Linked DNA regions of Homo sapiens: regions 2 and 3 are each linked to region 1. The links are contacts of gene promoters, found by promoter capture Hi-C in blood cells and fetal thymus (Javierre and others, 2016). All regions are on one chromosome and are shown on one strand. Each heading gives the region's core, a stretch centred on a gene start or on the middle of the fragment in contact. The rest is flanking DNA. Distances are from core to core; before and after follow the strand shown. Region 1 holds the start of IFT172 (intraflagellar transport 172). Region 2 overlaps GPN1 (GPN-loop GTPase 1). Region 3 overlaps SLC4A1AP (solute carrier family 4 member 1 adaptor protein).

Region 1 (3,222 bases), core at 671-3,170:
TGCACCACTGAATACTAATACATATCATATGAGAGGGTAGTAGCCTTTTTATCTTCACTGCTTGCATCGACAGCACAGCTCCTCACCACTTACTCTTCTGACTCCTCCATCAACCCTGGGCTAATGGTCAGAAAAGGACTAAGCAGTGTCTTGGGGACTAATGAAAGGACAGCTACACTCATGGATTCCTTGGTGCCACATGCTCCTATCCTATGTGTTCCTGTGTCTGTTCTTCCCTCTTTTGCATTCCCTTTCATCTCTGTCTCTGTTTAGTCAGTCAAAGTCAGTAATAACTGTAATTCATAAATGAGTTTATATTCATGCTCTGCCACCATATCCAGAGGAGGATTCTGAAAATAAAACTGAGGGGTTGGGACTCCCCTGTCAAAATAATTCTCATTTGAGCTCTGAGGCCTACTTGTTTCCTGTGAAAATAGGGGCTGTCCTCTGCTCTTTCCTATTTTCTAAGGGGTGGTTGGTGGCCATGAGACAAACACCTGTTGACACTTGCAAACCACTGTGGGGGAAGGCTTCTGGACCCACAGTCTGTCTGGAGAGCATATGTTACACTTCCTGGAGAGTTACAGATCTTCCCAACTTTGGATCATTTCAGAGCAGGCTTATGAATAACTCCTTTCTGCATTTCAATCTCTCTGGTATGTTAGAAGATAGGCCAAAAATTCTGAACGGGACTCCAAAGATCAACAAGTCAGTCTCTTTTCTACTTAACCAATCTCTAACCCCAGGTATCACAAGACAACCTATCGGGTGAGCCAAGTCAGGTCTGCCCTCAAAACTGAACCACAGGCCGAGAACGGTGGCTCACGCCTGTAATCCCAGCATTTTGGGAGGCCAAGGCGGGCAAATCACCTGAGGTCGGGAGTTTGAGACCAGCCTGACCAACATGGAGAAACCCTGTCTCTACTAAAAATACAAAATTGGTCGGGCGTGGTGGCACATGCCTGTAATCCCAGCTACTTGGGAGGCTGAGGCAGGAGAATCTCTTGAACCCGGGAGGCAGAGGTTGCAGTGAGCCAAGATCGCGCCATTGCAGTCCAGCCTGGGCAACAAGAGTGAAACTCTGTCTCAAAACAACAACAACAACAAACTGAACCATAAAAACATTCCAATGTAAACAGCAGTCTTTAACCCACCATTACCCAATTAGGAAGTAGGGTACCTTACGTTTCTTTGGCAGCTAGTTCCAAAACACTCATCTTCCAGATTCTGAGAATAAATGTCATTTATTGGGATGGGAATGTGACAGGTTATAGTATCGTGGCATGGAGAGAGCGAGCTAGGAGTTGAGAAGGAACATAAAAGCTGTTTAAAGCTACTAACTCTGGGTTGAACTCCAGTTCCAAGTCCTTCGCTGGCTGTGTTAGTTTGAGCAAGTGCCCTGAGTCTCCTGTTATGTAAAATGAGACTAATAATAACGCTATCCCCTTCAAAAGGTGGTTTTGGGATTAAATGATATAAATGCACGTACAATACTTTACACAGTACCTGGCAGACACATACTGAGTATTCATCGTTAGCTATCGTTATTAGCCTTGCGATCCCGTGCAAATCATGTAACCTATTTGGGTACAATTCCGTCAACTGCAGAAGGCCTATCATGGAAACCGCCCTGCTTCCCTCCAGAGTTGTGAGGATTAAGAGAGTGCACTCAGAAAGTCAGGTACATCGAAGAGCGAGACGGACCGCTATGACGTAGGACCTGGGGCTGGCTGAAGGCTTGTGGGCGGGGCTTGGTCTTGAGTTTGCATGCGGCGACGGGATTGGTCAAGGAGAACATTCATGAAGCCCTCTCAAGGGCCCGCCCTAGATCTCACCGCGCTTGCGCACGTTCTGTTTGCTTCGCCGCAAAGTTACGTGTGACCTTGCGACGCGTGTTGCGCTCCGGTCGCATAAGCGTCAGTGCCTGTCGCTGCGGCTGCGTGGCGGGTTGTCCAGGTAACCACGGGAGTTGTCGCTGTCTAGGAGCATCTGAAAGACAGGTGTGCGTCATGCACTTGAAGCACCTGAGGACCCTGCTGAGCCCTCAGGTGAGGAATTGCGTGCCAGTCCCTCCCCCTTATGCTTTATGTTCCAAGAAAAGTGGGGGAACTGAAGTTTAATGATGTTGACCTCCTACTGTGTGCAGAAGGCTGTAAGGGATATAGCGATGATCTGGATCTTGGCCTGTCGATACAGCGTCCAGGAGGCGAGATGCAGGGCTAAGGACTTGTAGCTTTCCTTACATTTCATTCACATCAGTTGTGTACAGGCCCCATGCTGGGGTTCGTAGGAATCCCAAACCACCCGACTTATGTCCCTCCCTTCAGGAGGCTCGTATTAGAGGGTGAGGTGCACATGTAAGCAGCGAGTATGCATGTGCCCATAATTAAATAAGCGCCTTAGGTGCAAGCCCTGAAGGGGGAGTGCAAAGACCGAACCGTGTATTCTGATTCAGGAGAGGCTGGGCACTAGGGGAGGAGCCCTGAAACATGGTGAAGAAAGGGTGGGCTTTGGAGTTAGCACACCAGAATTTAAGTCCTAGCTCCACCACTACTTTCTTATTTTCTTTTTAAAATTTCTTACCTTGTCCTTATTTCAGGTCAACCACTACTTTATTTAACTATTTGAGACAGAGTTTTGCTCTGTTGCCCAGGCTGGAGTGCAGTGGCTCGATCTCACTGCAACCTCCGCCTCCCGGGTTCAAGGGATTTTCCTGCCATAGCCTCCCAAGTAGCTGGGATTACAGACGTGCGCTAGCACGCCCGGGTAATTTTTTGTTTCTTTGTTTGTTTTTGTTTTTGTTTTTTGTAGAGACGAGGTTTCCCCATGTTGCCCAGACTGGCCACCAGTACTTTAAACAAATGACCTGATATCTCTAACTTTAGCCTTTATTATACAATGTCTCGGAGCACTCACCAACTTCTTCATTTGAAAAAACATGAGTACTAATAGCAACTTTAGGGGACTTGGGGAAGAGTTATATAGAGTAATATACACAAAAGAGCATTGTAAACTGAAAAGCAGTGTGAAAAATTGATAGACAAGAGGAAAGGACATTCAAAATTCAAAGGACAGAATAATACAAAGCTAATAAGAATAAGATGTCTGGCCAGGCCCAGTGGCTCACACCTGTAATCCCAGCAATTTGGGAGGCCAAGGTGGGAGGATCACTTGAGCCCAAGATTCCAAGACCTCTACAAAAAAATTTTGACCAGGTGCGGT
Region 2 (3,237 bases), core at 574-3,073, 160 kb before region 1:
TTTATAGTTTTCCACAACCAAGCCACCCTTCACAGATAAAATATGATGCTGGCATGGCAATCAGACCAAAGCACTGTCCCCAATTGTTGTCTTAACTATGACTAGACATGTTATACAGCCATTTATCTTGTACAACTGAGAAGAATCATACTTTGACCTACCTTGTAGAGATGTGAGGATTTAGATGTTTGCTAACTTCAAAACTGTGCTTGAATAGACTAATAATATATGCTCATATCAGATGTCAGTTTTCATTTAACTTGATTCATTTTTGGCTCAGGTCATTGGGAACCCATTACTAATACCTAACAGGAAATAGCTAAACACAACACACCTTATCTATTAGTCACCTTCTTAAAACTGTTTTTGCTACTTTTGAAGTGTCTTATTTATAAGATCAGAGGTCTGACACCTTTTTTGCTTAGACAGCTCTCTATCTCATCCATTTATTTTCTTCTCTAGACTTACTCCATCTCTCCTCATCCTTTTGCCTTTGTTATTTCTGCTCGGACTCACATACTTTCACCATATACATATTTTCAATTGTTTCTTTCCTTTTCTCCTTTGTGAGCAAAGCAAACAAGTACTGTCCAAGGACAGCCTTGTGCATATTTCATTTGTTGCATTTGCTTGGTCATCAGAGGACAGCAGTCCATTAAGCACACTTTGCTGCTTCTACTGTAAAGGCAGCCTTTAAAACATAGCAATATGCACCTTTCAACTTTACATCATGTCCTGAACAACATCACTGTGGTTACTCATCCATCAGACTATCTGTATATATAAGTACTGAATCAGTATTTATTAAGTAAATGATGTAGCACTGTAGTGATTAGGAATCATTAGCAAATGTGTTGCTTCATGCCTTGGTGATGGATGCCAGCATGTTAAACTGCTGAAGTTTGATTTTCTGATGCAAAATATATCTTGTAAAATTTAGACCACTCCTTTAATGCAGACCAAAATAAGGCACAGCTTTAATTCATTATTGAATGCCTTAAATGTCCCAGGTATTGAGAATAAATGAATATGATACAAATGAGGTTATAGTTTAACATATAATTTTAAATTTGCCAATTGTAACTCTTTAGCACATTTCTCTAAACCCTTTCTGTCACAGTCTTTTTTTTAATTTATTTATTTATTTATTTATTTTTGAGATGGAGTCTTGCTCTGTCACCCAGGCTGGAGTGCAATGGTGCAATTTCGACTCACTGCAACCTCTGCCTCCCAGGTTCAAGCGATTCTCCTGCCTCAGCCACCTGAGTAGCTGGGATTACACGCACATGCCACCACACCCAGCTAATTTTTGCATTTTTAGTAGAGATGAGGTTTCACCGTGTTGGCCAGGCTGGTCTCAAAACTCCTGACCTCAAGTGATCTGCCCGCCTCGGGCTCCCAAAGTGCTGGGATTACAGGCGTGAGCCACTGCACCTGGCCTCTGTTGCAGTCTTATCTTCATTTTCCTTTGTTTATAATGAAAGTGGCGATTAGGCAGTTAGTTTCCATAAAGTGGCCGTATGGGAATTTAGTTCATTCATCCAGCAAACATTGAGTACCAATTATTTGCTAGGTCCTGTGCAAGGAATACAAAAATGATTAAGACTTCTTCCTTACCCTTTTGGAGCTTGAAGCATAAGGAAGACAAGTTATTCTGTAAGGAAGATAAAGCATTCAAAAGTACTACAGAGAAAAACCAAGTATGCTTGAGTTTTGCGAATGTTCTCCTCTTAAAGAATAGCTTCAAATTTTGAGACCAGTGGTTCCCACTAAGTATAGAACATTAAAATTAATACTTTATAATAAAACACTTTTATTGCTGCAGAATGTTAAACTGCATAACAGGCACCAGATGGTCAAGACGAGGGAAATATGAGAAGGCAAATGATGTGAGGATTAGTATCTTGAGATTCACCTGGTCTGGAATTATGTCATAGGCTACTATGCATCAGAATCACATGGAGGGCTTTCTAAAACAGACTGCTCAGCCCACCCCCAGGGTTTCTGAGTTCATAGGTTATAAGAGGTAAGTTGAACAATTCCCCAGATGATGCTGATGCTCCTGGTCCACAATGTGAGAACCACTAAGTTGGAGTACTGACTCATAGAGATAAAATTCTTTGAAAGAAATGTACTGTTTTAAGATACTGTAAAATGTGGAGGCAGGGCAAACGTTTATAAGGGCTGTTATGTATGAAATGTGCCTCTGACCCAAATCCACGGACTTTGCGAAAATCACCAAGGAGACTTTGCATTAAGTTCAGAGTACAATACAAACTGGGCCTAGCTCTGTATTTAGTCAGTATGTGCACGTGGGAAACTTTAGTAAAATATCACCTCCTTATTGAGACAAGTTTGGACATCTGGCCTTAAGCCTCTGTTGAACAGGAGAAGTGAAGCTGTTTGCAATTATATAATTTTCTAATTTGAAATCATGACAAGCAGTCTTAGAACAAAGTTAAAATTAAAAAGTCTTTATCCAAGTCACCAATGAAACAGGATTCTGATTCATTAATCATGTCTTGCCCACTTTTTTCAACAAACCTGACGTCCTATAATGAGCTATACAGTGTGAGGCATATTTCATAGCAACGTTGGTTGATTGCCAAGGAGACTCTGCCACCGTTCTGGATAAGCTCATGTTTCCCTTTTCCTTGGCTGCTAATAGAAGGGCAACTTACAGTGCAGGGTCAAGAGCAAGAAGCTGGGGGAGTAGAGGCTATACATCTAGCCTAATAATAGAGATCTGAGGTGGTCACCAGGAGACTACGTTCTTTTGATTCCATTCCTCAGCAGCAAAAGTACTTGAGTTCAAATGATAAAACTTGAAGTTGTAGGCTTGGAAGAGTATCAGCTCAGTATATCCTTCCTTGCATAAATACAAGGGAAAGGCCAAGGAATAATCAGCATTAACCTGCCAGGTCCAAGGGTCTTCTATCCCTGACTTCATCTGAGTCACAAGATTTCTCTAATAAGAGAAACTTTGCTACTCTGAGGAAAATTATCCCTTATGGGAGCCCCCAGTTCAGAGGTAAGAACAGTTCTTTCACGTGGAGGTCCAAAATTCTGGACTTCTAGAAACAAGTGAAGTGTGCTAAAGTCTCCTATTTATTGTTTCTCTTCCAGTATTGTGCCATCGATTCTTGCATAAAATTCTGGAATGCTGGCTCTTCATGGCTTTCCTCTGTAACTGCAAGGAAAAAAGGGCAATTCTTTTTCAACTCTTTCATTAGACAA
Region 3 (3,394 bases), core at 297-2,796, 180 kb before region 1:
TTTTCCTTTTTTTAAATCTAGAAAAAAAGGGCTCCTATATACTGACCTGCTTCCTGCCGAAGCAATCCCAAAGTGTCAAGAATCCGACAAGCTTCCAATGAGCACTGGATCATTGCTTCTTTTTTCTTTCCTGAGTGAATGGCCTCAGCCACCAGTTGTTTTCCAGTTGAATCGTCCACAGGTAATCTTCATTGATTTGGTGGGAATTATAGCACAGCATTAAGCTCCAATTCTCAAGAAAACAACTACTATGCTATGATAATAGTCATTTTTTTTTTAGATGGCCTTTCAGTCTTTGAATCCATCTTGTTCTATCTTTCCAATGTTGGATTTAAAATATTTTCTTTCTATTTCTTACCCATCCCACCCCACTCTCCAATAATATAAGGGTTACTAAACGATAAAGGCTCAAATTTAGAAATAGCTTAAACTTAGATGAAAGTTACTCTTTGGGTTGTTATCTATAACCATACATTAAACCTGAAATTGGCCATTTTCCAGAAAAGAACATTAATAAGAAAAGAGCATACCTCACCCTGCAGAGCCAAGTGCTATGTCCCTGTTCATCAAATTCATATTCTAATTCTTCTCCTGTGGGAGAAAGACAGACAAAACAATTTTAATAGAATCCAAAAATTACTAGTTGATACAATGATAAATGAGAACAAACGTTAAATACGAACAAGTTCCTAGCAGTGGCTCACGCCTGTAATCCTAACACTTTGGGAGGCTGAGGCGGGATGACAGCTTGAGTTAAGGAGCGCGAAACCAGTCTGTGCAACATGGCAAAACCCCATCTGTACAAAAAATACAGAAATTAGCCGGGCATGATGGTACGTGACTTTTGTCCCAGCTACTACGGGGGCTAAGGCCGGAGCATAGCTTAAACCCAGGAGGTCAAGGTTGCAGTGAGCCAAGATTGCGCCATTGCACTCCGGCCTGGGCGACAGAGTGAGACCCTGTCTCAAAAAAAGAACAAGTTCTGGCTGGGCGCGGTGGCTCACGCTTGTAATCCCAGCACTTTGGATGGCCGAGATGGGAGGATCACGAGGTCAGGAGATCGAGACCATTCTGGCTAACACAGTGAAACCCCGTCTCTACTAAAAATACAAAAAAAATTAGCCGGGCGTGGTGGCGGGCGCCTGTAGTCCCAGCTACTCGGGAGGCTGACGCAGGAGAATGGCGTGAATCCGGAAGGCGGAGCTTGCAGTGAGGCGAGATCGCACCACTGCACTCCAGCCTGGGCAACAGAGCGAGACTCCGTCTCAAAAAAAAAAAAAGAACAAGTTCCCATACCACACTGAATAATAAATTTCAATGCATTTCACTTCTCATTCCTAGGGATTATTGTCTGATAATAAAATTAGAGTAAGTCTGAGGCAGAGAAAAAAACAAACTCAGATCAAAGTAACCAATTCTCCATACATAGCTCTGTTCACTGTATAGTATGTTTCACTTTTATAAGTTGTAGACTTTAGTGGTTATTTTAACACAGTTGCCTGGTTTTTAGAAGCACAGATATTAAGTGCACAGCTATTTCATATATTATTTATATATACATATAAAATATATACAGATATACATACATATACATAGATATTCTCTCAAAGTATTCCTACCAAAACAATCCTCTATGGAAAAAAAATTTTAAATCATATAATATAAAATCAAAACCTATGTTAGGAATTACAAAAGATCAGGTGAATTCGGAATTAAAAAACTACAGGAAGTTGGCTCAATTTCCCCACCACCAAAGTCCAGGATCTTTTGAGAAGAATGAGATGAGTCAGGAAAAAGTACTTCCTTTTTTTAAGATAAGAAGAAAGACTAACAAGATTTTTATGATTTTTTTCCCCTCTGCCATACTAATGAGGAATAATTTTCAAAATAAACCTAAAGCAACTGACCACAAGAGTAAAAAGTGAACAAGAAGGACAGCAATAAAATTATAGCATATCTTAGTATAAAGCTCAACATGAAGCTCTAGAAAACCACACTGCTCTGGATATGTTTTAGTGGTAGGGTCAGAATCTGTTTACATACCTTCTCGGTCAAAAAAGCCTTGGAGAGCCTTTTTGGGATCCTTTATATAAAAGGCCTCCCTTTCCTGCTGAAACTCTAAGACAATAGGGTTCTCTTCAGCATCATCCTCTACTGCATCTTCTCCTACAGGATATGGAAAAGAAAGAAAAGATAATCAGACATGAGAAGAGACTATTTGAATGATACCCACTATTCTCTCAGGCTGCATAAAGATATAGTTTAGGCTGGGCGCAGTGGCTCATGCCTGTAATCCCAGCACTTTGGGAGGCCAAGGCAGGTGGATCACAAGGTCAGGAGTTCAAGACCAGCTTGGCCAACATGGTGAAACCCCATCTCTACTAAAAATACAAAAAAAATTAGCTGGGCACAGTGGCGGGTGTCTGTAATCCCAGCTACTTGGGAGGCTGAGGCAGGAGAATTGCTTGAACCTGGGAGGAAGAAGTTGTAGTGAGCCAAGATCGCGCTACCTGCACTCCAACCCAAGCAACACAGTGAGACCGTCTCCCAAAAAAAAAAAAATATATATATATATATAGTTTATCTGTGATGAAAAATAATAAATACTTGCAGGGACAGGGGGTGGAACAACCACCACAAAACCACTAGTATGAGCATATTCAGGTTTTCTAAATTGTGTGACAAGTCAAAACTTGTTTTCATGGCACCTTAATTTTTTTTTCTCCATCATTATATTTTAAAAGTAAAATTACCTACCACATTGTGGAAAAAAAATTTGAGCTCCTCAGCCTGGCATTCTTGTTCTCTCACACTCATATCTAACTTTCGTTCCCAATATAATTTCCTAATACTTCTTATATCTGCCAAATAGACTGGTCTACTCACAACTTCCTTAAAATCATCAATTCCTACCCTGAATACCAATCCCAATACTCAGCTTCATAAGGCTTTTCCTTTCCTTCAAGTTCCAGCTCAAAATCCTTATGCTCATAAAGCTTCCCTGTGGAGTGCGATCGCTCACGCCTGTAATCTCTACACTTTGGGAGGCCGGGGGGCGGGGTGGGGGGGGGGGGTGGGGGGTGGATCACAAGGTCAGGAGTTCAAGACCAGCCTGGCCAATATGGTGAAACCCCATCTCTACTAAAATAAAAAAAATTAAGTTTCCCAAAGATCTAAGTCAGTGCTGTCCAACAGAAATATAATGACAGCTGTATGCGTCATCTTAAATTTTCTATTAGCCACATTAAAAAATTAAAAGGAAACAGGTAAAATTATTGTCATTTCAACATGTCATCAATATAAAAATATCATGAAAGAGATATTTTACATTCTTTTTTTCAGACTAAGTCTTTGAAATTCAGTGTGTATTTTGCATTTACAGCACACATCAATT

What was found. Contacts are between HindIII fragments. The CHiCAGO score rates a contact against its expected background, and 5 or more counts as called.
Region 2: a fragment that was not itself captured here is called in contact with the fragment with the promoter of IFT172 in region 1 in 1 of 17 cell types (endothelial precursors); the score reaches 7.3 in endothelial precursors.
Region 3: a contact is called between a fragment that was not itself captured here and the fragment with the promoter of IFT172 in region 1, in 1 of 17 cell types (endothelial precursors). The highest score is 6.5, in endothelial precursors.

Annotation. Positions count from the first base shown.
Region 1 is chr2:27,488,441-27,491,662 of GRCh38, reverse strand. It overlaps IFT172 (intraflagellar transport 172), which reads left to right and starts at 1,920. Exons shown (of 48, transcript NM_015662.3): 1 at 1,920-2,048. The coding sequence starts at 2,010. The HindIII fragment of the contact is 7,682 bases long and covers 1-3,222 here.
Region 2 is chr2:27,650,068-27,653,304 of GRCh38, reverse strand. GPN1 (GPN-loop GTPase 1) reads right to left here. Exons shown (of 14, transcript NM_007266.4): 14 at 1,794-3,190. The coding sequence ends at 3,105. SUPT7L (SPT7 like, STAGA complex subunit gamma) reads left to right here. Exons shown (of 6, transcript NM_014860.3): 6 at 1-2,496. Among named protein-coding and RNA genes, the nearest start is that of SUPT7L, 12 kb to the left of the region's middle. RefSeq lists an enhancer at 1-698. The HindIII fragment of the contact is 7,798 bases long and covers 1-3,237 here.
Region 3 is chr2:27,666,040-27,669,433 of GRCh38, reverse strand. It overlaps SLC4A1AP (solute carrier family 4 member 1 adaptor protein), which reads right to left. Exons shown (of 14, transcript NM_018158.3): 3 at 2,044-2,166; 4 at 531-591; 5 at 47-186. Among named protein-coding and RNA genes, the nearest start is that of SLC4A1AP, 3.8 kb to the right of the region's middle. The HindIII fragment of the contact is 2,905 bases long and covers 94-2,998 here.